6 separate regions of the Homo sapiens genome follow, and all the other regions are linked to region 3. The links are contacts of gene promoters, found by promoter capture Hi-C in human tissues and cell types (Jung and others, 2019). All regions are on one chromosome and are shown on one strand. The core of a region is centred on a gene start or on the middle of the fragment in contact, and the rest is flanking DNA. Distances in the headings are between cores, read along the strand shown. Region 1 overlaps NSD2 (nuclear receptor binding SET domain protein 2). Region 2 overlaps LOC124900163 (chloride intracellular channel protein 6-like). Region 3 holds the start of UVSSA (UV stimulated scaffold protein A). Region 4 holds the start of ZNF721 (zinc finger protein 721). Region 5 holds the start of PCGF3 (polycomb group ring finger 3). Region 6 holds the start of NELFA (negative elongation factor complex member A).

Region 1 (4,524 bases), core at 236-2,735, 570 kb after region 3:
ACACAACTGATTTTTTTTTGCTCATTTGATGACTCTCAGAGATAACTTGTTTTAGAATTTATATATACACATATATGTACGTATATATGTGTATACACACACACAGACAGAGGGATTAATGTAATGTGATAGGAATTGATTTCTGGTTTAAAGAAACAATAAAGGTATTATGTTGGGCTGAATTCTAAAATTGGTTTTTAAAAGTTTTTATTTCTATTATTTTTTAAAATTTTTTTGAGATGGAGTTTCACTCTTGTCGCCCAGGCTGGAGTGTAATGGCATGATCTTGGCTCATTGCATCCTCTGCCCCTCCGGGTTCAAGCGATTCTCCTGCCTCAGCCTCCCAAGTAGCTGGAATTACAGGTGCCTGCCACCACGCCTGGCTAATTTTTGTATTTTTAGTGGAGACAGGGTTTCACCAGGTTGGCCAGACTGGTCTTGGACTCCTGACCTCAGGTGATGTGTCTGCCTCAGCCTCCACAGGTGCTGGGATTACAGGTGGGAACCACCACGCTGGCCAAGTTTTTTATTTCTAAAATTATGTGAAAATGTAAAAGTATTCTTTTTTTTTTTTTTTTTTTTGAGACAGGGTCTTGCTCTGTCACCCCAGGCTAGAGTGCAGTGGCGTGGTCTCGGGTTACTGCATCCGCTGCCTCCCAGTTCAAGTGATTCTCATGTCTCAGCCTCCCTAGTAGCTGGGACCACAGGCATGCACTACCATGCCTGGCTTATCTTTTGTATTTTAGTAGAGATGGGGTTTTGCCATGTTGACCAGGCTGGTCTTAAACTCCTGGCCTCAAGTGATCCATCTGCCTTGACACCCATAAGTGCTGGAATTATAGGCATGAATCATGTGCCTAGGAAAAGTAGTTAACTTTTATGTTTGTGTAGTGAAACTTACAGTGTCTCTTTTTTTTTTCCCAGCTATTGAAACCAATTTCAGGGAAATTGAGGGCCCAGTGGGAAATGGGCATTGTTCAAGCAGAAGAAGCTGCAAGCATGTCAGTGGAGGAGCGGAAAGCCAAGTTCACCTTTCTCTATGTGGGGGACCAGCTTCATCTCAACCCTCAAGTAGCCAAGGAGGCTGGCATTGCTGCAGAGTCTTTGGGAGAAATGGCAGAATCCTCAGGAGTCAGTGAAGAAGCTGCTGAAAACCCCAAGTCTGTGAGAGAAGAGTGCATTCCCATGAAGAGAAGGCGGAGGGCCAAACTGTGTAGCTCTGCAGAGACCCTGGAGAGTCACCCCGACATAGGGAAGAGTACTCCTCAAAAGACGGCAGAGGCTGACCCCAGAAGAGGAGTAGGGTCTCCTCCTGGGAGGAAGAAGACCACAGTCTCCATGCCACGAAGCAGGAAGGGAGATGCAGCATCCCAGTTTTTGGTCTTCTGTCAAAAACACAGGGATGAGGTCAGTACTAAGTTGTGTTTCATGCTAGCAAGTTTCAGAATTTGAGGAACATCCCTTCAGTGCAGAATCATCTGTTTCTCAGCATTATCAGGAGACTCTAACATGAGCCTTGCATAGATTTTAGATCTAATAAATAAGTATTAGGGAACAGCCATTCTGACCCTTGAGGGAAAAGATACTCGACTTGCACTCTGGGGTCTTAAAATATCCTTCCTAATGTGGATAAGAAGATACCGAGAACAGGCCAGGCACAGTGGCTCATGCCTGTAATTTCAGTACTTTGGGAGGCCAAGGCGGGAGGATTGCTTCAGCTCAGGAGTTTGAGACCAGCCTGGGCAACATGGTGAAACCCCATCTCTACAAAAATTAGCCGGGTGTGGTGGCACATGCCTGTAGTCCCAGCTGCTTGGGAGACTGAGACAGGAGGATCCCTTGAGTCCTGGAGGCAGGAGGATCCCTTGAGTCCTGAAGGTGGGGTTTGCAGTGAGTCGTGATGGCATCACTGCACCGTAGCCTGGGTGACAGCAGAGCGAGACTGTGTCTCAAAAAAAAAAAAAAAAAAAAACTAGCACAGAGGGAAGTGGGTCTCAACAGGCTGCGCTTTGCTTGAAGCGTGTGGTCATGTCCTTAACGTGTGACTCCAGGTTAGCACTTTCTCCAGCAGTCTGTTCTGAAGCTTCCAGTGCAGGATATGCTCATCTGTAAAGCTCATTGTGTCCACTGGCACTGAGGGTGTTGATTTATTTCCCTGACATTTAAAAGGGTAGCAATGTGATTAAGACATTTATATAATTTTCTTAATTGTTTGCATAAAATGCACAGTCTGTTAGTACATAATAAAGGCTGTAAAGAACTGAAGGAGTTGGGTTCCCCACTTCCCACTTTTGGTTATGTTACTTGGAGTGGATCATATTCTCATGCTTAAAAGGCTTTTTTTAAGTGTTCATTTTAATTTTACTTCCATAGGAATTTTCCATTCAGTAGTCTAAATCTATGTGGTGATTAAAGGTATCAAAAACAATAGTGTTGGCCAGGCACAGTGGCTCACACCTGTAATCCCAACACTTTGGGAAGCTGAGGCGGGTGGATCATGAGGTCAGGAATTTGAGACTATCCTGGCCAACATGATGAAACCCCGTCTCTACTAAAAATACAAAAAAAAATTAGCTGGGCATGGTGACGCGTGCTTGTAATCCCAGCTTCTCAGGAGGCTGAGGCAGGAAAATTGCTTGAACCAGGGAGTCGGAGGTTGCAGTGAGCCAAGATTACACCACTGCACTCCAGCCTGGCGACAGAATGAGACGCCGTCTCAAAAAAAAAGGAAAAAAAGTCTGTCTTCAAAAAATTTTCCATGAATCTTTAACCAGCATGTATTTTGTGGCAGGCAGTGTGGCACAATAAGGAGCCATGAGTAGTTCAGGCAGAGATGCATAAATGGGTGACTGTGAGTATTCTAATAAATCTACTGGACATGATTTTTTTGTCCCTATATGGGATCTGGAAATTCTGCCAGAGAAAGGCATTTGAGTGATGCCTTCAAGAGTGGCTGGGCGTGGTGGCTCCCGCCTGTAATCTCAGCACATTGGGAGGCTAAGGTGGGCAGATCACCTGAGGTTAGGAGTTTGAGGCTAGTCTGGCCTACATGGTGAAACCTTGTCTCTACTAAAAATACAAGAATTAGCTGGGCATGGTGGTGTGCGCTTGTAATCCCAGCTACTCAGGAGGCTGAGGCAGGAGAATCACTTGAACCGGGAGGCCACAGTGAGCTGAAATCATGCCGCTGCACTCCAGCCTGGGTAATCCTTAGGGCTTTTCTCAGGAATGCAAGGGTGATTTGATGTTAGAAAGCTATTATTGTGACTTACTGTGTAATGCTCATCTCCATAGAGGGAGAAAAGGCATTTGATAAAATTCATTGCTTTTTTTAATTAAGTAAACACCCTGTATTTATGGGGTATATGTGATATTTGGTACGTGCATTAAAGTTCATTGCTTTTTCTCCTTGGGAGGTTGAGGTGGGAGGATTGCTTGAGCCCAGGAGTGTTGAGGTTGCAGTGAGCTGTGATTGTGCCACAGCTTTCCAGCTTAGGTGACAGAGTGAGACTCTGTCTCATAAAAAGAAAAGAAAGGCCGAGTGTGGCAGCTCACACCTGTCATCCCAGCACTTTGGGAGGGTGAGGCAGGAGGATTGCTTGAGCCCATGAGTTTGAGACCAGCCTGGGCAACATGAAACCCTGTCTCTAAAAAAAAAAAAATTTTTTTTAATTAGCCAGATGTGATGGCATGTGCCTGTAGTCTCAACTACTCAGGAGGTTGAGGCAAGAGGATTGCTCGAGTCCAGAAGTTTAAGGCTGTGGTGAACCATGATCATGCCATTGCACTCTAGTCTGGGCCACAGAGTGAGACCCTGTCTTAAACAAAAAAATTATTGCTTATTGATAAAAGGTTAGTAAACCAGGAATAAAAGGGAACTTCCTAAATCTGTTTAAGGATATGTATCAGAAGCTTTCATCAAGGATATTACACATGAAACTTTAGAAGCATTCTCCTTAGGCCAGGCATGGTGGCTCACACCTGTAATCCCAGCACTTGGGGAGGCTGAGGCGGGTAGATCACTTGAGGTCAGGAATTCAAGACCAGCCTGGCCAACATGGTGAAACCCCGTCTCTACCAAAATTATAAAAAATAAGCTGGGCATGGTGGCGTGCGCCTGTACTTCCGGCTATGTGGGAGGCTGAGGCAGGAGAATTACTTGAACCCAAGAGGTGGAGGTTGCAGTGAGCCAAGATCGTGCCACTGCACTCCAGCCTGGCGACAGAGCGAGACTCCGTCTCAAATTAAAAAAAAAAAGCATTCTCTTTAAAATCATGAACGAGGGCCAGGCACAATGGCTCATATCTGTAATCCTAGCATTTTGGGAGGCTGAGACAGGTGGATCAATGAAAGCTGGGAGTTTGAGACCAGCATGGCCAACATGGTGAAACCCCGTCTCTACTAAAAATACAAAATTTTACCAGCTGTGGTGGCGAGCGCCTGTAATCCCAGCTACTTGAGAGGTTGAGAAAGGAGAATCGGTTGAACCTGGGAGACGGAGGTTGCAGCGAGCCAAAATCACGC
Region 2 (4,351 bases), core at 441-2,940, 580 kb before region 3:
AAAGCTCAGTTTGTCTCCTTGCAGAAAGAGGTTGCTGCAGTTTGGAGCTGGTTATGCCAAGGAAAATACGGCTAAAAAAGAACTTACTGATTCCCATAGGTGTGTCAACTGACAAATGAATGTTCCATCTCCCTACGACAATTTGCTGCCCCTCCCCAAAAAAAGCACTATGGCCAAAATTTCAGTTTTTAAAGGTTAAGTAAAATACAACAATTCTGAAACTCTTAAGAGAACCAGAATTGGAAGGAAAGGAGAATGGCCAAAATTATATTCTCACAACCTAAAGCAGTAAACTTTAAAAATAGGTTCAGTCTTAGACTTGACTTAATTGACTTAGGCTGGGCATAGTGGCTCACACCTGTAATTCCAGCACCGTAGGAGGCCAAGGCAGGCTGATCATCTGAAGTCGGGAGTTCGAGACCAGCCTGGCTAACATGGTGAAATCCCGTCTCTACTAAAAAATATAAAAATTAGCCGGGTGTGGTGGCAGGGGCCTGTAGTCCCAGCTACTCAGGAGGCTGAAGCAGGCGAATCGCTGGAACACAAGAGGCAGAGGTTGCAGTGAGCCGAGATCACGCCACTGTACTCCAGCCTGTGCTACAGAGCAAGACTCCATCTCAATTTAAAAAAAAAAAAAAAAAAAAAAAAAAAAGGACTTGGCGGGGTGCAGTGGTTCATGCCTGTAATCCCAGCACTTTGGAAGCTGAGGCGGGTGGATCACAAGGTCAAGAGATCGAGACCATCCTGGCCAGCATGGTGAAACCCCATGTCTACTAAAAATACGAAAATTAGCCAGGCCTGATGGCACGCACCTGTAGTCCCAGCTACTCAGGAGACTGAGGCAGGAGAATCACTTGAACCCGGGAGGCAGAGGTTGCAGTGAGCCGAGATCGCACCACTGCACTCCAGCCTGGGCGACAGAGCGAGACTCCATCTCAAAAAAAAAAAAAAAAAAAAAAAAAGACTTCACTGACTCAAAGTGTATTTTACTTATTTTCGGCCAGTCCATCTGTCCATCTTAGAAATGTCAAGATACTGGCTGAAACCACAAGCAGACACTGATGTCAGCGTCAACTGCAGGGAGTAGGGGAAACACAAGTCCTCAAAATTGGGTCCACCCACTTTGGGGACTGGGCCATGAAGCCTGGTGATAGCAGCCACGGGAGCCTGAGGTCTGAGAGCTTCAAGCTCCATCTGAGCACAGTGGGTGGGGTCCCTGCACCAGGACCCCAGAAACAAGCTCTGGAAGTTGGTTCCTGTGGGTTCTGCAGCAGCTCAGGGCTGCAGGGACCTTGACGCTCTCACAGCAGAGCCAAGCCTCGGCCTCTCTGCTCGCTGGTGGTTTTGTTTCTCCCATGCAGTTCTGTGTGCATAAGACAAAAATCCTGTGTTAGTCATGTGTGTTAGTACACCTGTGACCGGGTGAAAGCCAAACAGTGTCCCCTGAAAGGCAGCAGAGGAACAGAAAAACAAGGGGGTTTGCTGTGATGAGACCCGCACCGTCTGCGTTCAGGAAGCCAGGGCCTTCTGCTGCTAGAGGCCCCTGAGGCCCACCAAATCCTCCCAAAGTAGATGTCCATATGGCTTCTAGTTTTTAAGGATAAAACTCCCTTGAGATGCACTGAGTCCCTCCTGAGGGGCTGTGGAGGGCTGAGCCTGCATTGGTTGGGAGGCCTGTGTCCTGACGGTGCTCTGCAGTAGCTACACTGAACGTCCCCTTTAATAGAAAGAATTATCTGTCTTCCGCTTACACAGAAATGCAACTGTGCTTACATAAATCAGCACAGAGTCCTAAATCCATAAATAAGCAAAGAGTCCTTTCTCTTACCCACATTACTCCTCAGTCAAGGAAAGTACACAAAGCACATTTGTTTCATTTTTTTTGGTGGCTTATGCTCCAATTGTGAGGAAGGAGATGCTCCCCTGGGCCCACCCCGCCCACCCCAGAGTGTCTGCCCACGCCAATTCCTGGGGAAGGTGTGGCCTGCTCAAGGGATAAGACTCCTGTCGACGTTGGACAAACAACCATTTGACCACTACATTTATTCCTATGTTTTTTCTTTGTGTGTGTGTGTGTGTGTGTGTGTGTGTGTGTAGACAGAGTCTCACTGTGTCACCCAGACTGGAGGGCAGTGGTGTGATCTCGGCTCACTGCAACCTCTGCCTCCTGGGTTCAAGCGATTCTCCTGCCTCAGCCTCCCAAGTAACTGGATTACAGGCACCTGCCACCACGCCAGGCTAATTTTTGTTTTTAGTAGAGACGGGGTTTCACCACGTTGGCTGGGCTGGTTTCTAACTCCCAACCTCTGGTGATCCGCCCGCCTCGGCCTCCCAAAGTGCTGGGATTACAGGCGTGAGCCAGCGCGTCCAGCCGAAGGTTGCTTTTTTAAAGCATTTTTAGTCAAAGTCTTTTGAAAGATGAAAGGTCTGGCCTTGGTCACAGTAGTCCTGCTGTGAAGACGCATGAAGGTGCCCTGGGTCAGGGGAGCAGCCAATTTCACTGACACCCTGGGACGCACAACCAGGACCTGACCTCTTGCTGGGAGATTACCCCGAGACTTCAGTCATCACCATGCACACTGCCTTGTAGGAAGGCTGGGAACCCTCAGGTGGCGACAGCCCCCAGTCTGCCAGGGCCCCTCAGAGGTTGAGGGGGCAGGGTCCCTCCTCACATTTCTCACCTGCAGCTGGTGCCACAACTGTGAATGTTGGAGTTGTCCAGTCCCACAGCTTCCTCTGCCCCACAGCACAGGGCAGATTGGCCTGCAGGGCCTCATCACCCCCATTCTCTGAGAGGAGATGTGGCTATCTCTGGCAGGCCTCGCTCTGGCTGGTAGCTTTCTCCTGGGCTGCCATCTTCTAGTGCCAGTGAGGACTCTGGTCATCTCACCTGCTTAATTCCCATACTGTGTTGTCCACAGCTCTGCTCGGGTCTGGTAGTGAGAGGTGACAGTGTGCTGGCAGCCCTCTCAGCCCTCGCTTGCTCTCGGCACCTCCTTGGCCTTGGCACCCACTCTGGCTGCCCTTGAGGAGCCCTTCAGCCCGCCGCTGCACTGTGGGAGCCCCTTTCTGGGCTGGCCAAGGCCAGAGCCGGCTCCCTCAGCTTGCAGGGAGGTGTGGATGGAGAGACAGACGCGGGTGGGAACCAGGGATGTGGGCAGGCTTGCAGGCCAGCAAGAGTTCCGGGTGGGCGTGGGCTCGGCAGGCCCTGCACTCAGAGCGGCCAGCCGACCGGCTCTGCTGGCCCCGGGCAGTGAGGGGCTTAGCACCTGGGCCAGCAGCTGCTGTGCTCAATTTCTCGCTGGGCCTTAGCTGCCTCCCTGCAGGGCAGGGCAGGGCTCGGGACCTGCAGCCCACCACGCCTGAGCCTCCCACCCCTTCCATGGGCTCCTATGTGGCCCCAGCCTCCCCGACGAGCACTGCCCCGTGCTCCACGGCACCCAGTCCCATCGACCACCCAAGGGCTGAGGAGTGCAGGCGCACAGCACAAGACTGGCAGGCAGCTCCACCTGCAGCCCCAGCGCAGGATCCACTGGGTGAAGCCAGCTGGGCTCCTGAGTCTGGTGGGGACTTGGGAGAAGCTTTATGTCTAGCTAAGGGATTGTAAATACACCAATCGGCACTCTGTATCTAGCTCAAGGTTTGTAAACACACCAATCAGCACGCTGTGTCTAGCTCAGGGTTTGTGAATGCACCAATCGACACTCTGTATCTAGCTACCCTGGTGGGGACGTAGAGATCTTTTGTGTCTAGCTCAGGAATTGTAAAAGCACCAATCAGCACCCTGTCAAAAACGGACCAATCAGCTCTCTGTAAAATGGACCAATCAGCTCTCTGTAAAATGGACCAATCAGCAGGATGTGGGTGGGGCCAGATAAGAGAATAAAAGCAGGCTGCCCGAGCCAGCAGTGGCAACCTGGTCCTGTCCCCTTCCACACTGTGGAAGCTTTGTTCTTTTGCTCTTTGCAATAAATCTTGCTGCTGCTCACTCTTTGGGTCCACACTGCCTTTATGAGCTGTAACACCGCAAAGGTCTGCAGCTTCACTCCTGAAGCCATCGAGACCACGAACCCAGTGGGAAGAATGAACAACTCCAGACGCGCCGCCTTAAAAGCTGTAACACTCATCGTGAAGGTCTGCAGCTTCACTCCTGAGCCATCGAGACCACAGACGCAGTGGGAAGAATGAATAACTCCAGACGCGAAACCTTAAGAGCTGTTAAGACTCACCACGAAGGTCTGCAGCTTCACTCCTGAGCCATCGAGACCACGGACCCAGTGGGAAGAATGAACAACTCCAGACGCGCCACCTTAAGAGCCGTAACACTCACCACGAAGGTCTGCAGCTTCAC
Region 3 (4,108 bases), core at 282-2,781:
CTGCAGGGCCATCAGCGGATACAGAGGGCAGTGGACGGGCAGCTTGGCTGTGCTGTTGAGCCTGAGGGCTGAGAGGACACCCCGGGGCAGTGTAAAGGAGACTGGACTTAGCAATTGGTAAGAAAAGTTGGATAAAGAGAGGGTTTTGTTAGTATGGGAGAAACGGCACCCTTTTATACTAATGAGAACTAGTAACAACAAAAAAAACCACGCTGTAGAAGACAGAGGGAAACTGCTGGATGGGTGCCTTGGAGGAAGCCACAGGCCGGGGATTGGATGCACAGGGCAAGGGGCGCTGAGGGAGGGTCTGGCTGCAGCTTGCTCAGTGAAGCAAGAGGCAGGGTGAGGAAGGGGTGAGGCGGAGGAGCGGCTCGGGGCTGGCTGCAAGCTAGGAGCTGGGAGCCACTGACGCCCAGGGACAGAAGCTGGTGCTGCAGAGAGGGGCGGCGCAGGGAGTCCCTCTTCTTTTCCTTTTTAAAATAATTGCTTTACTGAGATATAACTCACACATCCTGAAACCCACCCTGTAAAAACACGATTAACAGAGTTGTGAGCTACCACCACCGTAATGCAAGGGCACGCCCATCCCCCCGAAAAAGAAACCCCGGCCCGCCGCCGGCGGCCCCCGCCCTGCACCCAGCCCCGGGAGCCCAGTCGGGCGTCTGCTCTGCGTGGCCTGTGCCGGGCGCCCCGCGAGTGGGGTCCACACCACGCTCCTCCGAAGCCACGGTTTCCCAAGCGCGGTCTCCAGGTCCGTCCGTCCGCAGCCGACCTCGCACTCCCCTGCGTTCGAGGCTGCGGACTTCGGCGGCAGGACGGACGGCGCCTCTGCTTCTCATTCCGCCCAGGGCCAGCCCGGGCCCAGGGGTACCTGCTGTGCGTCTGGCGCCGAGGTGGGCCCCGAAGACCCCCAAGCCCGCCCAGGGATTCCCTTCCCGAGGCCGGAGCGGGGAGGCGCCGCGGGGTTCAGGGCGCCCTGCGCGGGGCGAGCTCGGGGGCGGGGGCCCGCGCCCGCCCGTCTGGGCGGTCCTCACCGGCCCTCTGCAGGTGAAGGGACCTGGCTGCGAGCCCGCGGGCGGGCGTGGCGTTGAGGCCCAGACCGGAACTTCCTTTCGGCCTCAGTTTCCCGGCCGGCCCCGCCCCCGGCGCCCGTACATGCGGCCCCTTTAAGGACTTTCTGCGCCCTCCCGCCTCTTTTTTCTCGTGCGTCCCCCTCCCCACCCCCGGCAGCCTGCCTCGCCCTCGCCGGGAGCGCGCCTACGTCACCGCGCAGACCTCGGCCGCGTCTTTGCGCCTGCGCCTCCTGGGCTGGGGTGAGCCATTGGCTGTCGAGCTCAGGGCACGTGCTAGGGGGCGGGGCCTTGACCGGAAAGGGTGGGGCAACGGCGAGAAAGGCCGCGTCGAGCGGTAGGTGCAGTCGTCGCTGTGGTGACCCCAGGTCCTGATGCGTCCGGCCCAGGGCCAGCCAATGGCGGTAGAGGTCTTGGGCACCTGACAAGAGGGGCGGTCCCCCCGCCGGAAGGGGCGGGGCGAGGCGAGCGGCCGCGTCAGCGGTAGGTGGGGCTGTGGTTACGCTGCCGGGCGGGGGTCGCGCCGGTTCGGTCCCCGGGGCTCTGCGGGCGCCGGGCAGAGACCTGCGGCCAGGGCGTGTCCCGTGTGCCCGAGAGCGCCGGCGGCGGGGCCGGAGGGCGGGCCCTGGGCCGAGTGACAGGCCGCAGCCCCCCGAGCACCGTCGAAGCCGGCGCGCCCGCCCGGTGCAGCCGCTGTGCGAGAGCGACCCCGCGGTCCAAGCCTCGCGTGGCCCTGCCGGGCCCCTTCTTTCCCCGAGTAGGGCGCAGCTTCCCAGCCTCCGCCCCGGCCTCGCCTGGCGCTTCCTTCCGGGTCCTTCGGCCTTTCCCTGGCGGTGCGGCAGGCCCTCGCCTCATCCCACCAGGCACGCCGCGGTGCTCGGCCCTGGGTATCCGGGCAGGCTGCCTCCGTTAGGGCCGCCCCTGCTCTCCGGACGCGACTTTTCATTGGTCTCAGAATTTCTTGGCTCCTCTTGGCCTCTGCAGCCTTGCTGGAGGCTGCCCTGCGGAATCTGAGTGAATAAGGGAAACAGCAACAGTCACGTTGGGGAAAAGCTGATTCGGACAGCGCCACTGGTTCCTTTAACGCACGACCCTCAATGCAGCGTCCCACACACGGGATTGTAGAGGTCCCGAGTTTAAGGTTCACTTTTAAAACTGCAATCACCGCCGTAAAGGCCTTGCTGGACACACATATTTCCCAGAGAGGCACCCACAGATGGACCCCAGCCTCAGGGTCCTCCCGGAGCTTTCGGTTTATAGTGGAACCCAGTAAACACGTTAATAACACCGAGAGCTATAAAATACAGATGGTGATATAGCATCTCTGCCTTACTTATTTCTAGATATGGATCAGAAACTTTCGAAGTTGGTAGAAGAGCTCACAACTTCAGGAGAACCCCGACTAAATCCTGAGAAAATGAAGGAACTGAAGAAAATTTGCAAGTATGTCTTAGGGTTCAGTAACAGTAACTGACTGGCCCACTGAGCCCAGGACACACACAGGGCCCTGCCCTCCTGCCCCCACCTGGGAGAGAACCACCCGAGGGACACACCCAGGACATTTTCTCGGGGCCCTGCAGTACCCGGCTCTGACGGGTGGTCATGTTCTGGGGTCGGGGCGTGTGGCGTTGGGGACCCCACTGCTCTGTGGTTGGTGCTTCTCTTCATTCCCATTTGTGTGGTCTGGAGCACATCCTGTAGGAGTTCTTGAGTGCACAAATGTGATTCAGAGAGAAACGTGCATCTTTTTCTTTGCTGCTGGACTTTTCGAAGGGAAAGAATAGAGCTTGCTGATGGGCGAGTTGGTCCATCGCCTTTAGGGTATGTCCACCTCTGTTCACTTCCTCCAAGGAAAACGCCGGAGGGGATCTCTGCCGTCACCCTCAGGCAGCCAGAGATTCATGGGGGAAGCAAAACTTCCCCTCGGAGGGTGGAGCATAAGTCGAGGACACTGATTATTCTGTATCCTGTGTTTGTAAAATGGCAGTTTATAGATTGTTTATACAGTGATGGAGTGTTGACATTTTGATAGAAAATTTCAGGTCAGGTTTTGTGGCCTGCGCCAGGAAATCGAATTCGCAATGGTTTATGTGGGGTCAGGAGCTGGGAATAGGAGCATTCAGGAGGGGCTGGGAGATGTCCCGAGCTCTAGGCCTTCCTTCCTTCCTGCAGCAGGAGGCACCCAGCTGAAACAGTGTGCGTGCTGGGCGGTGTGCGTTGTGCCAGGCGGTGTGTGTTTGTGCCGGGCGGTGTGCGTTGTGCCGGGCGGTGTGCGGTTTGTGCCAGGCGGTGTGTGTTTGTGCCGGGCGGTTGGCGTTTGTGCCGGGCGGTGGGCGTTTGTGCCGGGCGGTGTGTGTTGCGCTAGGTAACGTGTGTTTAAAGAGCCAGATGGTTTGTGTTTCAGGCTTTGCTGTAATGCCTCAGTTGTGAACACAGCTGTAGATGATGTAGGTGGATAGATGGGCGACGTTCCAATGACACTTTGTGAATGAACACCGACATTTGAAGTGTATATGATTTTCACATTTCACCAAGTATTTTTTGTTTGTATTGACATTCTTGGCTTGTGGGCCACACAGAAACAGGCAGGGGCTGGGGAGGTAGATGTGGCCCTTGGGCAGTAGTTTGCAGACCCTGCTCTAGAAAAGGGGAGAATGAAGATGGGAAGGCAGTGGTGGTCCCTGCCACACGTGCGTGCGGCATCCATGCACGGAGAGTCTCCCCCCGCCCATCCTCTGCGTGTGGGGCAGTTGGGTCAGGCCAGCTCGCATCCCCAGGTCTTCAGAGGAGCAGCTGAGCCGCGCCTACCGCCTGCTGATAGCACAGCTGACCCAGGAGCACGCCGAGATCCGTCTCTCAGCCTTCCAGATTGTGGAGGAACTCTTCGTCAGGTCTCACCAGTTCCGGATGCTGGTTGTTTCCAACTTCCAGGAGTTCCTGGAGCTCACGCTGGGCACAGACCCCGCACAGCCTCTGCCGCCCCCCAGGGAGGCGGCACAGAGGCTGAGGCAGGCGACCACCCGGGCCGTGGAAGGGTG
Region 4 (4,591 bases), core at 1,317-3,816, 850 kb before region 3:
TTGGTCAAATCCGATAAGGGAAAGGACCAAAACACACAAAAAAAACCCCAACAAGACAGAAACAAACAACAGAACAGGTAAGCAAAACTAACAATGATCACACAAAATACATGACTTCTTTTTTTTTTTTTTTTTTTTTTTTTGAGACGGAGTCTCGCTGTCGCCCAGGTTGGAGTGCAGTGGCGCGATCTCGGCTCACTGCAGGCTCCGCCTCCCGGGTTCACGCCATTCTCCTGCCTCAGCCTTTTGAGTAGCTGGGACTACAGGTGCCCGCCACCGCGCCCGGCTAATTTTTTGTATTTTTAGTAGAGATGGGGTTTCACCGTGTTAGCCAGGATGGTCTCGATCTCCTGACCTCGTGATCCGCCCACCTCGGCCTCCCAAAGTGCTGGGATTACAGGCGTGAGCCACCGCGCCCAGCCTATGACTTCTGAACGCTCTAAGTGTAAGCAGAAATAAACACCAGCTGGTTGTTAATGTTATCTTTAGTCATTTAAAAAGAATTTGCAAGACAAAATTCCAAATCAATTTTCTTACCTAGTGATGGGGCTCAAGCTGAAGACGGCTATCTGTCGATGCAGAAGCAGGCAGGCTTGCCTTCCTTGATGAAGCGAGTGGGAACTCCCAAAAAAGGAGTTTTTTAACAGCAAATAAACCTCAGACCCCCCACCGAAAAACGTTGGAAGATCAGGGATCCCTGGAGGAACAAGGTCCCAGATTTCAGCAATCATCCTACCAGTTTGGGCAATAAGGTGCCAAGCCAATACCGAGGATCAATAGGCGAACTGCTGCAGGCCGGGTTACCTTCACTGAGGATCTCTCAGTGCTTATCAATGTCAATCGAGAAAAATGACAAGTCTTAATCATTTCAGGAGGCTTATTTCCCAAAGTTAAGGACGCCCATGACACAGCCTCCGGAGATCCTGACGACGTGGGTCCAAGGTGGTCGGGGCACAGCTTGGTTGTATTCATTTTAGGGAGTCACGAGATATCAATCATATGTATAATAACAGGCCGGACAGGGCGCGGTGTCTCACGCCTGTAATCCCAGCTCTTTGGGAGACAGAGGCGGGCGGATCACGAGGTCAGGAGATTGAGACCATCCTGGCTAACATGGTGAAACCCGTCACTACTAAAAAATACAAAAAAAAAAAAAAAATTTGACGGGCGTGGCGGCGGGCGCCTGTAGTCCCAGCTACACGGGAGGCTGCGGTAGGAAAATGGCGTGAACCCGGGAGGCGGAGCTTGCAGTGAGCGGAGATGGTGCCACTGCACTCCAGGCTGGGCGACAGAGCGAGACTCCGTCTCAAAAACAAACCAACAAAAAAAAAACAGGCCGGGCGCGGTGGCTCATGCCTGTAAATCCCAGCACTCTGGGAGGCCGAGGCGGGCGGATCACGAGGTCAGGAGTTCAAGAACAGCCTGACCAACATGGTGAAACCCCGTCTCAACTAAAAATACAAAAATTAGCCGTGCGTGGTGGCACGCACCTGTAATCCCAGCTACTCAGGAGGCTGAGGCAGGAGAATTGCTTGAACCCGGGAGGCAGAGGTTGCAGTGATCTGAGATCACGCCACTGCATTCCAGCCTGGGCGACAGAGTGAGATTTCATCTGAAAAGAAAAAGAAAAAAAAAAAAAAAAAAAAAAAAAGAAGGACATTGGTTCTGTCCAGAAAGGCGGGGGCAACTTGGAACAGGGAGGGGGCTTCCAGGTCACAGGTAGGTGACAGACAAATGGTTGCAGTTTCTGGGTTTCTGATAAGCCTCTCCAAAGGAGGCTATCAATATGCATTTATCTCAGTGAGCAGAGGAATGACTTTGAATAGAATGGGAGGCAGGTTTGTCCTGAGCAGTTCCGAGCTTGTCTTTTCCCTTAGTTTAGTAATTTTGGGGCCCCAAGATTTTCCTTTCAGAAAAAAGAAAATGTGGTATATATACACAATGGAGTACTATTCAGCTCTAATAAAAGAATGAAACCCTATCATTTGCCACAACACGGATAAACCTGAGGATATCATGTAAGCAAAATAAGACACAGAAAGACAAATACCTCATGATCTCACTCATGTGGCATCTTTAAAACGAAGTTAATCATTAAGATATTTACCAGTTGTCTGAGGTATTGGGTTGAATTTTCTTTTTTTTTTTTTTTTTGAGACGCAGTCTCGCTCTGTTGCCAGGCAGAAGTGCAGTGGCGCGATCTCGGCTCACTGCAACCTCCGCCTCCCAGGTTCAAGCGATTCTCCTGCCTCGGCCTCCCGAGTAGCTGGGACGACAGGCACCCGCCATCACGCCCCGCTAATTTTTTGTATTTTTAGTTGAGACGGGGTTTCACCATGTTGGCCAGGATAGTCTCGATCTCCTGACCTCGTGATCCGCCCGCCTCGGCCTCCCAAAGTACTGGGATTAAAGGCGTGAGCCACTGCACCCTGCCTTCCAAATTAAAAACTTTTTAAAACCTCGTACCTCGCCGTGGGCGGCGACCGTCGCGGACTCGCCGGGAAGACGGCCCCACGGAGCCGGGAACACCGCCCGCTGTTCGTATGTCCGAGGTGACGCCCCGCTGTGGCGGGCTGGCGGAAGTGACGCGCTGCTGTGGCGCGCCGGCGGACGTGACGCCACTGTCGCTGCGACGATAAGGCCTGGCGTTATTGCTTAGAGGCGGCTACCTGGAGCCGGAAGCGCGGCTGCAGCAGGGCGAGGCTCCAGGTGGGGTCGGTTCCGCATCCAGCCTAGCGTGTCCACGATGCGGCTGGGCTCCGGGACTTTCGCTACCTGTTGCGTAGCGATCGAGGTGCTAGGGATCGCGGTCTTCCTTCGGGGATTCTTCCCGGCTCCCGTTCGTTCCTCTGCCAGAGCGGAACACGGAGCGGAGCCCCCAGCGCCCGAACCCTCGGCTGGTACGGACCCCTCCCCGGCGTCTCCGCTCCCCTGACCCCACATCCCCTAGAAGACCTTTTTTCTGAGCCTCGCTGCTCGGATTTCTTCTCGGCGCTCCCCGGTGGTCTCTTCCATTATGGTCCCCACCTCAGAAATTTTTTTTAACCGCTCCAGCGTCTCTTTTCTGTATTCTTACAACTTTGTGGCAACCACCTCTACTGGCCCCACTTCGACCTTCCTTCCTGATCACCACAAAGTAAGCTGTGTCCATACCTGGGATCCAGCCTCTCCACTTCTACTCGTCCAGAGCTCCCGCCCCTTTCCTGAGCAGCCTTTGGGTCACTCCCCGTTATAGGCGCCCTTTTTGCCCCCTAGCACACAACAGATAAGACCCCTGCCGATCCCCTCGCGTTTTGGTCTCTTATATTCCTCCAAGATGTTTTCCCTGCCTAGGGGCTAAGGCCTCTCTGCGTTAGGCCTCTTCCTAGGCTTCACCTACCCAGCCATATACAGCAAGTAAAGGCGCCCTGGTTCTGGACCACTTGCACACATCGCCAGCCGCTGACCATGTAAACGCAGTATGTAAACGCCCAGCCATCCCGTAGCTGCAGCTCTGCGTTTTAGGTCAAGCTCCCTAAATGTCCCATTCCAGGACCCTTACGTAGGGATTCTCCTACCCCAGTACTCTTCACCATACTGAGGATAATTCACTGCTTGCTACTGTGGGTCCCTAAGATTACTCCTGTTAACCCCCGTCCTTTCCCCCCAGCACTACCTACCAAGTACAAGTCGCCTCCTTTTGGGTTGGGTTATGTAGATATCGCAGGGTATGTGCTGGAGAAGTAGGTAGAAGCTAGATTGTGAAGGTGCTTGATGCTAAGGAAAGTTTAGAGTTCAATTTCCTTTTTTTTCTTTCAAACACTTAGGAGCCAGTTCTAACTGGACCACGCTGCCACCACCTCTCTTCAGTAAAGTTGTTATTGTTCTGATAGATGCCTTGAGAGATGATTTTGTGTTTGGGTCAAAGGGTGTGAAATTTATGCCCTACACAACTTACCTTGTGGAAAAAGGAGCATCTCACAGTTTTGTGGCTGAAGCAAAGCCACCTACAGTTACTATGCCTCGAATCAAGGTAAGTTTGCCTTAATGTTTTATGAATCATGGTTTGGCTGTTTTGAAGATTTAGAGGGGGTCTCTGTAGTCTTTCGCTTGGAGTTGCAATTTTAAGAAAGTGGAAATTTTGTGCTGTCAGTTGGCTGGGGCAATAGAATGTTGAAGGAGCCTCACACGGGATGGAACTGAGACCCATCATTTGTGCCCCATGTCAAGTAGCCAAAGCTCATGCTTCATGGCAAATATAAAAGATTTAGAGCAAGATCATCCAGGCTAACCTACCCCAAGATATGCCATTCTTGGTGACCTGCTTTCTTCTTTAATCGTCACTGGGTCATTTACAATCTTAGAAGGAGCCTTTAGAGTTAATCTAGTTCAGTCTCTAGACTTTATAGATAGGAAAGCAAACTCAGATAAGTTAAATGTGACTTCTCCAAAATTATCCACCAGTATACATAATGATCAAATCAGTATGTTCCGGCCTCAACAATTACCACTGTTTCCACCATATCCTTCAGGTGTCCAGCCTACTGACAGCAGCTTTGAAGTACATAGTGCATTTCCCAAGAACCGTGGGTAAAGAAAAAAGTAAGCCTTT
Region 5 (4,717 bases), core at 1,433-3,932, 640 kb before region 3:
ACAGCAGAGAAGCACAGGGTCCAGCGAGCTCTTTCTGTTCTGCTCCATCCTCAAGGATGGGCAGACCCTCTGCCAGTTTGTGAGTGACCAGAATGATCTGCCAGAGAGGCACCCAATGGCCCTAGGAGGCCCTAGTGACTGGGTGGGCAGGGAGGGCGGACCGGCACCCTGGGGAAGGTTGGGGCACCCTCTGGGGGGGACAGGGGCCTCCCCTCTACTCCAGTCTGCTTGTGCCATGATTCCTGCCTCCCTTCTTTACAGCTCTGCTAAGGAATACGTGCCTGTATGTAATATGTGCACACCCCGAACTCACACCAGGACAGCACACACTGCCAACACCCTAGGCTTCTTTGGCCCCGATGCCTCCACCCTCGGGCCTTGGCTGAGTGAGGTCCCAGGAGGGTGCAGGTGGGAGACCTGGCTGGCTGCCGATGGGCCATGGATGGCCAGTTTGGGCATGAGAGGAAGAGGGTGCAGAGGACTCTGGGGTCTTGCCTCAGGACTGGCGGTGGGGGGTGGGGGGTCCTGGGGTACACAGCAGACTCAGGATGGCCTGGGGAAGCCATCCGGCCATGTGGCATTTAAGCTTCCTAATGACATTCAGCAGAAACAGAGCTGGACACAAGAGCCCAGGGCTCAGAGTCAAGGTCCGGGCACCGCTGGCACCCACCCAGGAGAGTAGTGGGAAGCCTAGGGGTAGGGTCTGCACCTCCTTGAGGAGGGGCCTGGGGCCTGGAGTGAGTTCTGAACTGCAGCTTACCACTCTGCCTCTTCCTGAGGCCACCACACTCAGCCCAGGACTGTTCCTGGCCTGCTGGCCACCCCCTGCCCCTTGCACCCCAGCACCAATACCTTGCCCCTGCCCTCCTTCTGGGATGATCCTCCAGTCCTCCCCTCCACATCTGGGGCCTGCCTCCACCAACTGAAAACTGCAGTCAGGGCTCTTGTGGAGGGCCAGCACCCCAGTACCCCAATCCCAGGCAGCCCTCTCCAGTGGGCCCCTCCCCTGCACTGGGCCACCCCATGGCTCCACGGAGCCCTCCCTGCCTCCCCTCCCCCGGGGGCAGCAGTGGCCACATTTAGTCCCTCCCCTTCACAGCAGCATGCCTGGGAATGCTGTACACATTCACATGTCTGCTGTCTGTCCTCCTCCCACCCGGATAACGTGTCCACCCAGTGCTGGAGATCTCAGCAGGCCCCCAGCCCTTCTCAGGCCCCTCTCAGCAGCGGACTCAAGCCGCTTCCCCACGTGCTGCACCATACCTGGGCCCGGGGCCCCCTGCCTGGTGGCTGCTCCCGGGGTCCAACTCTAGACTTCACGGGGACAGTCGCAGGGTCACTCCCTCAGCCACCACCTCTCCAGACGGGACGAGCTAATGACTCCCGACTCCTGCTCCATGCCTGCACCGCACAGCCTCGCAGCGAGTGCCCCTGGGCCTACGGGGCCTCCCCTCTCGCCACCAAGCCTCCACACTGCGCGGTGCCCCGCCGCCCGGAACCACAGTGGTCTCGCTTCCCACCCAAGACCCAACCTGCCCTCCCGTCCTGGGCCGCCAGCCCAGAACCCGCAAACCGGGAGACCCTAGGACCCCGCGTGCCTGCACGTCCGCCTCACCCCCGCACGCGCCCTCGGTCCTCGGATCCCGCCCTCTCAGGACAGTGCCAGTCCCACGAAGGCGCAAATGCCGCCCGTACTGCTCCACCCTGGCGGAGGGCACCCAGGTCGGAGAGTCCGCACGTGGGTGCCCTGTCCGTCCTGATGCTGAACATAACCTAAATACAAGCCTAAACATGACCAGACCCGAACCCCTGACCCTGACCCCACCCCTAATCCTGACCCTAACCCTAAACCCAACCCTAACCCTAAACCTAACCCCTAACTCTGACCCTACCCCTAATCCTGACCCTAACCGTAAAACCAACCCTAACCCTAACCCCTAATGCTGACCCTAACCCTAAATCCAGTCCTAACCCTGACTCTAACCCTAACCCTGACCCTAACCCTAAAACCCAACCCTAACCCTAACCCTGACCCTAACCCTAAACCCAACCCTAACCCTAGACCAGACCCTAACCCCTGACCCTGACCCCACCCCTAATCCTGACCCTAACCATAAACCCAACCCTAACCCTAACCCCTAATGCTGACCCTAGCCCTAAACCCAGTCCTAACCCTGACTCTAACCCCTAACCCTGACCCTAAACCTAAACCCAACCCTAACCCTGACTCTGACCCCTAACCCGACCCCTGACCCTAACACCGACCCTTAACCCTGCCGGGAGGGCGCTCAGTCCCGGCTCCCACAAAGGACAGCAGCACCCGTACTGGACGGCACCCCCGGAGGGACCCGGGCCTGAGGACTCTGCTGCTCCAGCGCCCCAGCTCACGATCGTCCAGGACCCGTCGGGTCCCTCAGCACAGCGCGGCCCTGTCGCTCTCCTGACCACGCCCCTCATGGCCCCGCCCTATGCCTCGCCCCTGGCCCTCGCGCCCCGCGGCTCCCTCCGCCGAGTCCAGGCCCGACGCGCCTGCGCCCTCTGAACACGCCCCTCCCCGCCCCTATCCCCACCCCTTACCGCCTGGCCCCGCCCACGCCCCTTGCCGCGGGGTGGGAGCCCAGACGCACACCGCGCATGCTCCGAGCGCGGCGCCCCCGACGCGGCGCTCGGCTCGGCTCGGGCATTTCCGCCTCTTTGTTTTAAACTCCGGACGGGCTTTTTTCTCCTCCTCTTGGGGGGGACCCAGAGGGAGCGGCGCCCCCTCCCCCCTCCGGCGCGGACCCCGCGTGCGCCTTGCTCGCCCGCAGCCCCGAGACCGCAGGTCAGTGAGTCCGCCCCGCCTGGCCTGGGCCCTCGGCGCCCGCTCCTCAGGCTGCGGCCTCGGCCCGTGTCCGGCCCGGAAGGCTCCGAACCCCGGGCCCGCGCTCCGTCGTCCCCGTCGGCCTGGCCCGGGAAGCCCTTGGCAGGCCCGGGAGGGCCGGCACCCCAGCCCAGTCAGGACTCCGGGAGGTCGAAGACCCCAGCCCAGGCAGGACTCCGGGAGGGCCAAGAGCCCAGCCCAGGCAGGACCCCGGGAGGGCTGGGACTCCAGCCTAGGCAGGACGCAGGGAGGGCAAGACCCCAGCCCAGGCAGGACTCCGGGAGGTCGAAGACCCCAGCCCAGGCAGGACCCAGGGAGGGCTGGGACAGCAGCCCAGGCAGGACGCAGGGAGGGCAAGACCCCAGTCCAGGCAGGACGCAGGGAGGGCAAGACCCCAGCCCAGGCAGGACTCCGGGAGGTCGAAGACCCCAGCCCAGGCAGGACCCAGGGAGGGCAAAGACCCCAGAACAGGGAGGGCCAAGACCCCAGACCAGGCAGGACCCCGGGAGGGCCAAGACCCCAGACCAGGCAGGACCCAGGGAGGGCGAAGACCCCAGCCCAGGCAGGACCGCGGGAGGGCAGGGACCCCAGACCAGGCAGGACCCCGGGAGGGCCAAGACCCCAGACCAGGCAGGACCCAGGGAGGGCGAAGACCCCAGCCCAGGCAGGACCGCGGGAGGGCAGGGACCCCAGACCAGGCAGGACCCTGGGAAGGTCGCGACCCCAGCCCAGGCAGGACCCAGGGAGGGCGAAGACCCCAGACCAGGCAGGACCCAGGTGAGGGCGAAGACCCCAGCCCAGGCAGGACCGCGGGAGGGCAGGGACCCCAGACCAGGCAGGACCCTGGGAAGGTCGCGACCCCAGCCCAGGCAGGACCCAGGGAGGGCGAAGACCCCAGACCAGGCAGGACCCAGGTGAGGGCAAAGACCCCAGCCCAGGCAGGACCGCGGGAGGGTAGGGACCCCAGCCCAGGCAGGACCCTGGGAAGGTCGCGACCCCAGCCCAGGCAGGACCCCGGGAGGGCTGGGTCTTCAGACCAGGCAGGACCTGAAGAGAGTTGGGCTCTGGGATTGCACAGGACCCCCAGAGTGCTAGGACACAATGACACATCATCCAGGAGGGTCTGACCCTGGGACAGGTCACCGAGAAGGGCTGGGACCCCAAGATGGGTCACCAAGGAGGGTCGGACCTGGCCACCTGGCAGGGCCCGGGGGGGCTAGGACCCTGGGAAGAATCACGGAGGAGGGCCAGACGTAGGGACCAGGCAGAATCCAAAGAATGCCAGGACCCCAGAATAGATCCCCCAGGAAGGTCCTGCCTTAAAGTGGGTCACAGACGAGGGCCAGGACCCCATGACCATAATTCAGGAGGACCTGACCCTGGAGCAGTCTTGTGAGTCCTGTGAGCACTGCTGGGACCCTGAGACTGCCCCGTCTCCCCCGGGACCCTGAGACAGCCCTGTTTTCCCCTGGGGGCCGGGACCCTGGGACAGCCTGTTTTCACCCGGGGGCCGGGACCCTGGGACAGCCCTGTTTTCCCCTGGGGGTCGGGACCCTGGGACAGCTCTGTTTTCCCCTGGGGGTCGGGACTCTGGGACAGCTCTGTTTTCCCCTGGGGGTCGGGACCCTGGGACAGCCCTGTTTTCCCCTGGGGGTCGGGACCCTGGGACAGCTCTGTTTTCCCCTGGGGGCCGGGACCCTGAGACAGCTCTGTTTTCACCTGGGGGCCGGGACCCTGAGACAGCTCTGTTTTCACCTGGGGGCCGGGACCCTGGGACAGCTCTGTTTTCCCCTGGGGGCCGGGACCCTGGGACAGCCCTGTTTTCCCCTGGGGGTCGGGACCCTGGGACAGCCCTGT
Region 6 (4,290 bases), core at 1,667-4,166, 660 kb after region 3:
GCATGTCCCTCGGGGAGACACAATAGGCACCAATGATAGTGGGCGGATGAATACACCATCTATGTTAAAACTAGGAGCTTCTATTCATCCATGATTCCAGGAAAAGGGCTGGGCGCACAGATCACACCTGTAATCCCAACACTATGGGAGGCCAAGGCAGGAGGATCACTTGAGGCTAGGAGTTCAAGACCAGCCTGGGCAATACAGTAAGACCCCCATCTCCATACACATGCACAAAAATTAGCCAGGCGTGGTGGCAGCGCATCAGTCCCAGCTACTACAGAGGTTTAGGAGGGAGGACTGCTTAAGCCCAGGAGTTCAAGGTTAAAGTGAGCTATGATTATACCACTAGACTCTAGCCTGGGTGACAGAGTGAGACGCTGTCTCAAAAAAAAAAAAAAAAAAAAAAAAAAGGATTCCAGGAAGCTAAGTCAAAGTCAAAGGACAACTGGGAGATATTTGTAACTGAAAAAGGACTGATATCTAGCATTTATAATAAATAATAAAAAAGACACTCTTACAAAACAATGGGAAAAAAGAGAATTTAAAAGCAGATTTGAATATACAATTCTCAAAGCAGAAAACCAAACAGCAGGCCGAGTGCCATGGCTCACACCTGTAATCCCAGCCCTTCAGGAGGCTGAGGCAAGCAGATTGCTTGAGGTCAGGAGTTCAAGACCAGCCTGGGCAGCATGGTGAAACCCTGTAGTCCCAGCTACTCAGGAGGCTGAGATGGGAAGATCTGAGGTGAGGAGGTCAAGGCTGCAGTGAGTCACGATGGTGCCACTGCACTCCAGCCTGGTTGACAGCGCCAGACCCTGTCTCAAACAAAACACAAACACAAAAACAAAACACTCTGAAAAATAATTTGGCATGATCCTATGATCCTCACAATTCCACTCCTAGATGTTATACCCTAGAGAAATCCAAGATTCCAAACACCTGAACATATGACCGTAATGTAGTAACGGGATGATTTACAAGAGCACAAAAGCTAAGCGTGTCACTGTGGCAGAATGGATAAAGTGCCTCGTGCTCACAGACAGGAATACCACGCAGCAGTGAAAATTAAACTGCAGTCAGCTGCAACGTGGATGAAACTGTCACGGCGTCGACCAAAAAGACACATGCACGCCACACACAAAATACACTATGATACCATCACACTAACTCCAAATCCGGCAACCAAGCTGTGCCATTTAGGGGTGCATAAATAATTGCTCACACCGGGGAGATGGCACAGAAATGATTACCTTTCCAAAATGAGGAAGGGGAAAGGAAGAAGGCCGTGATTACCAGTGGGAGGCTTCCAAGGAACAGGCATGGTTCTACTTCTCCACCTGTGTAAGGATCACAGGAGTGGCTCGCGATGCTATTATTATTCGTTAAACTGAACAAAAATGCACTTTTCCATACATGTCATATCTCAATCAAAAGCAATTACAACCTATAATAGCTAATAATACATCAGTAGCCAGGAACGTTTAAACAACCATGGGGCTTCAATAGTCTGCAAAACTACTCGGTTTATTTCGCACGGAAAGCGATACAATATAAAGTTTAGGAAAAAAGAAAACAAACCTCACACACCCACTTATTGGAATGACGCAAAACGGCGTGTAGAAAAGAGTAAAACGGACACAGAGCGCTCCGGACGGCCGGGGTCTTTGCGAGGTGAGAACAAGAAAATCCAGTCAGCGGACACTGGAGCTACCGAGCCCAGGCCGCCCCTTCCTCACGCGGGGGTTTCTCTCGGGATCCCCGCCCTCGCCCAGGTCACCAGGGCTGCGTCCCCGACGGGAAACCCCGATGGGAGACCCCGCTGGGGCCGGCGCACCCCCGCTCCAAGAGTCGGTCGCTTCGGCACGGTGGGGGATTAGGGTGGTGAGGACCGAAGGCGGGGGAGGCGGGGGCGGGTGGGGATGAGTACCCGGGGGCCCAGGGAGGGGAGTGAGGACCTGGGGGTCGTAGCGAGAACCCGGGGCCCGGCGGGGAGGAGATTGAGGATCCCAGGGGAGGTGAAAACTTGGGTAGGGGTGAGGACGAAAAGTAGGGAGGTGAGGACCCTAGTGGGGGATTCCCAGGGGGCGAGGAGGGGCGGGGGGTCCTGAAGACCCACGGTGGGGATGAGAACCGAGGTGGGAGATGAGGATCGAGGCGGGGGATGAGGACCCAGGGGGAGGTGAGGACTGGAGGGAGGTATTCGGAGGAGCGAGGAGGGGGCGTGAGGGCGGGCCGGGGGGGTTAACAGTCTGAAGGGGGATGGGAAGGTTGGGGGAGGGAGCGAGGAGGGTCCGGAGTTGGGTGTGCGGGTCGGAGGTGGGAAGGTTGGGAATCTGGGGGCCGCGGGGCGCCACGCCTGCCTTACCTCGTCCACCGTGCGGCGCGGGAGGTGCAGCGTCCCGAGTAGCAACTTGAGCTTCACTGCCGACGAGAGGCCATGGAAGCAGAGACGGATGTTGTCGATGACCGCGGCCGTGAGCAGGGACGCGATGCTGGGCGGCGCCCACAGCTCGTCCGTGGCCCCCAGCTTGTTGTGCAGCCACAGGCCCGTGTCGCTCTCCCGCATGGACGCCATCTTGGGGGAAAGCGCGCGCCGCTGCCCCGGCATCTTATGAAGACACCTACGCGTCCCTCGCTAGGACCCCAACATGGCGGCGCCCGTCGGGCTGCGGGCCGCAGAGGCGGCGCAGGTGGCGCGGTCCCACGAGCGGGGCTTCCCGGGAGAGCGCTTCTGGGTGGCGACCGCGTCTCCGGGTAGCGGCCGCGTCTTCGGGAAGCTTTGTGGCAAAGCCGAGAGCCGGAAGGACGGGGTGCCGCTGAGCAAGGACTATCGGCTTCCGTAAAACATCATGGCGGCGCCCTCTGCTGGCTCTCGGGAAGACCGCAAAAAATGACGTCACGAGCAGGCGCGCGTATTCGCGTCTTGGGAGCCCGGGCTGCGGCCTGGCATTCGCAGTGCAGGTGTCAAGCGCCGCAGACTTGCTGCTCGCGCGGTGGGGCGGAGGCTCCCTGTGGCACCTGCCCCGCTGTCCGCTCTTCGCTTTTTCCCCGCTTGGGTCTCGGCGCGGACCGTGTGGACGCCCCGCCCCCGCGGGCCCAGCACCTGCACGGAGAGGAGCCGCGGCCCTGCGGAGCGAGCCTGCGGGATCCCGGTCGCAGCGCTGAGCTTCCGTCCCCCGCTGAGCCCGCTCTGCCCGTGGCGCGCCGCCGACGGGGCTGCGCTGAGCATGCGGGTCGGAGGGCGCTCGGGAGCTGTCCAGGGGCACTCGTGACCCCACAGTGCAGGGAGGCCCCGGCCCCCAGTCGGGCTGGAGCCGCCAGGCAGGAGCCAGTAGTGAACTTTTCAGTTTTAAAAGCTTGTCATTAGATACAAACATGAGTAAAAGTTAAACTTCATTTTATTAAATTCGTTTTACCCTTTTGTCTTTTTGACGAGGCCTTCCTATGTTGGCCAGGCTGGTCTCAAACTCCTGGGCTCAAGCGATCCGCCCGCCCGCCTCTGCCTCCCAGAGTGCTGGGGTTACAGGTCGGGGCCGCCTTGCTTGGCTTCTGTATTATATCTTTTTTTTAAAAGATCTTTTCCTTATTGTTCCACTGCCATGCTCCTGCCGCCGTTCACAGCTATTGCCACTGGGCGGTGGGAACGCCGGGAGAACAGGGCTCAGCCCAGCTGCTAGCAGTGCCCTGGCCCTGGCGGCTTGAACTTGGCAGTCCTGCGGAAGTCACACGGGGGAAACCCGCAAATGCTACAAATCAGTGCTGGAGCGGTGGTTTTGTTGATTGCTTAAACTGAAGAAAGTGATAGAGAAAATGTTGATGATAAAGATTAAACTTAAAACTGTCATGTCGACAACCGTTACATTGCAAATAGCACATAAAATTTAAGAGAATATTTTTTAAATGATTCAAAAGTGTCGAATTCAGCAAAGACAAGTTATTGACTAATGGGTGAAGTTGTGACATCAGTGGGGCTAGTGCTGAAAGAAGTTTAATGATTAGGCCGGTCACGGTGGCTCACGCCTGTAATCCCAGCACTTTGGGAGGCCAAGGCGGGCGGATCACCTGAGGTCGGGAGTTCGAGACCAGCCTGGCCAGCATGGAGAAACCTCGTCTCTACTAAAAATACAAAACTAGCCGGGCTTGGTGGCGCATGGCTTGCCTGTAAGCCCAGCTACTCGGGAGGCTGAGGCAGGAGAATGGCTTGAACCCGGGAGGCGGAGTCTGCGGTGAGCCGAGATTTTGCCATTGCACTCCAGCCTGGGCCACAAGAGCAAAACTCCCTCTCAA

The links. Contacts are between HindIII fragments. The study calls those that stand out against the background at their distance.
Region 1: a contact is called between a fragment that was not itself captured here and the fragment with the promoter of UVSSA in region 3, in 1 of the 25 tissues and cell types used here (bladder).
Region 2: a fragment that was not itself captured here is called in contact with the fragment with the promoter of UVSSA in region 3 in 1 of the 25 tissues and cell types used here (IMR-90 fibroblasts).
Region 4: a contact is called between the fragment with the promoter of ZNF721 here and the fragment with the promoter of UVSSA in region 3, in 1 of the 25 tissues and cell types used here (lymphoblastoid cells).
Region 5: a contact is called between the fragment with the promoter of PCGF3 here and the fragment with the promoter of UVSSA in region 3, in 1 of the 25 tissues and cell types used here (lymphoblastoid cells).
Region 6: a contact is called between a fragment that was not itself captured here and the fragment with the promoter of UVSSA in region 3, in 1 of the 25 tissues and cell types used here (lymphoblastoid cells).

The regions. Positions count from the first base shown.
Region 1 is chr4:1,917,217-1,921,740 of GRCh38, forward strand. NSD2 (nuclear receptor binding SET domain protein 2) reads left to right here. Exons shown (of 22, transcript NM_001042424.3): 5 at 925-1,407. Among named protein-coding and RNA genes, the nearest start is that of NSD2, 48 kb to the left of the region's middle. The HindIII fragment of the contact is 3,023 bases long and covers 1-2,997 here.
Region 2 is chr4:770,437-774,787 of GRCh38, forward strand. The region is part of intron 1 of LOC124900163 (chloride intracellular channel protein 6-like); the gene reads right to left. The region is part of intron 1 of PCGF3-AS1 (PCGF3 antisense RNA 1); the gene reads right to left. Among named protein-coding and RNA genes, the nearest start is that of PCGF3-AS1, 9.2 kb to the right of the region's middle. The HindIII fragment of the contact is 4,145 bases long and covers 1-3,763 here.
Region 3 is chr4:1,345,677-1,349,784 of GRCh38, forward strand. It overlaps UVSSA (UV stimulated scaffold protein A), which reads left to right and starts at 1,532. Exons shown (of 14, transcript NM_020894.4): 1 at 1,532-2,084; 2 at 2,414-2,513; 3 at 3,848-4,108. The coding sequence starts at 2,416. RefSeq lists enhancers at 1-295, 2,141-2,220 and silencers at 591-680, 901-1,230, 1,471-1,910. The HindIII fragment of the contact is 13,201 bases long and covers 1-4,108 here.
Region 4 is chr4:496,590-501,180 of GRCh38, forward strand. It overlaps ZNF721 (zinc finger protein 721), which reads right to left and starts at 2,567. Exons shown (of 3, transcript NM_133474.4): 1 at 2,467-2,567. It overlaps PIGG (phosphatidylinositol glycan anchor biosynthesis class G (EMM blood group)), which reads left to right and starts at 2,621. Exons shown (of 13, transcript NM_001127178.3): 1 at 2,621-2,900; 2 at 3,807-4,012. The coding sequence starts at 2,747. RefSeq lists enhancers at 1,853-2,718, 2,282-2,761, 2,719-3,582. The HindIII fragment of the contact is 23,753 bases long and covers 1-4,591 here.
Region 5 is chr4:703,150-707,866 of GRCh38, forward strand. It overlaps PCGF3 (polycomb group ring finger 3), which reads left to right and starts at 2,683. Exons shown (of 11, transcript NM_006315.7): 1 at 2,683-2,821. RefSeq lists enhancers at 703-1,430, 2,471-3,456, 3,457-4,441 and a silencer at 2,406-3,105. The HindIII fragment of the contact is 34,476 bases long and covers 1-4,717 here.
Region 6 is chr4:2,006,382-2,010,671 of GRCh38, forward strand. It overlaps NELFA (negative elongation factor complex member A), which reads right to left and starts at 2,593. Exons shown (of 11, transcript NM_005663.5): 1 at 2,369-2,593. The coding sequence starts at 2,578. It overlaps LOC124900839, which reads right to left. Exons shown (of 4, transcript XM_047416543.1): 4 at 2,625-3,792. The coding sequence starts at 3,380. The coding sequence ends at 2,625. RefSeq lists enhancers at 2,276-2,776, 2,384-2,903 and a silencer at 2,964-3,343. The HindIII fragment of the contact is 4,627 bases long and covers 604-4,290 here.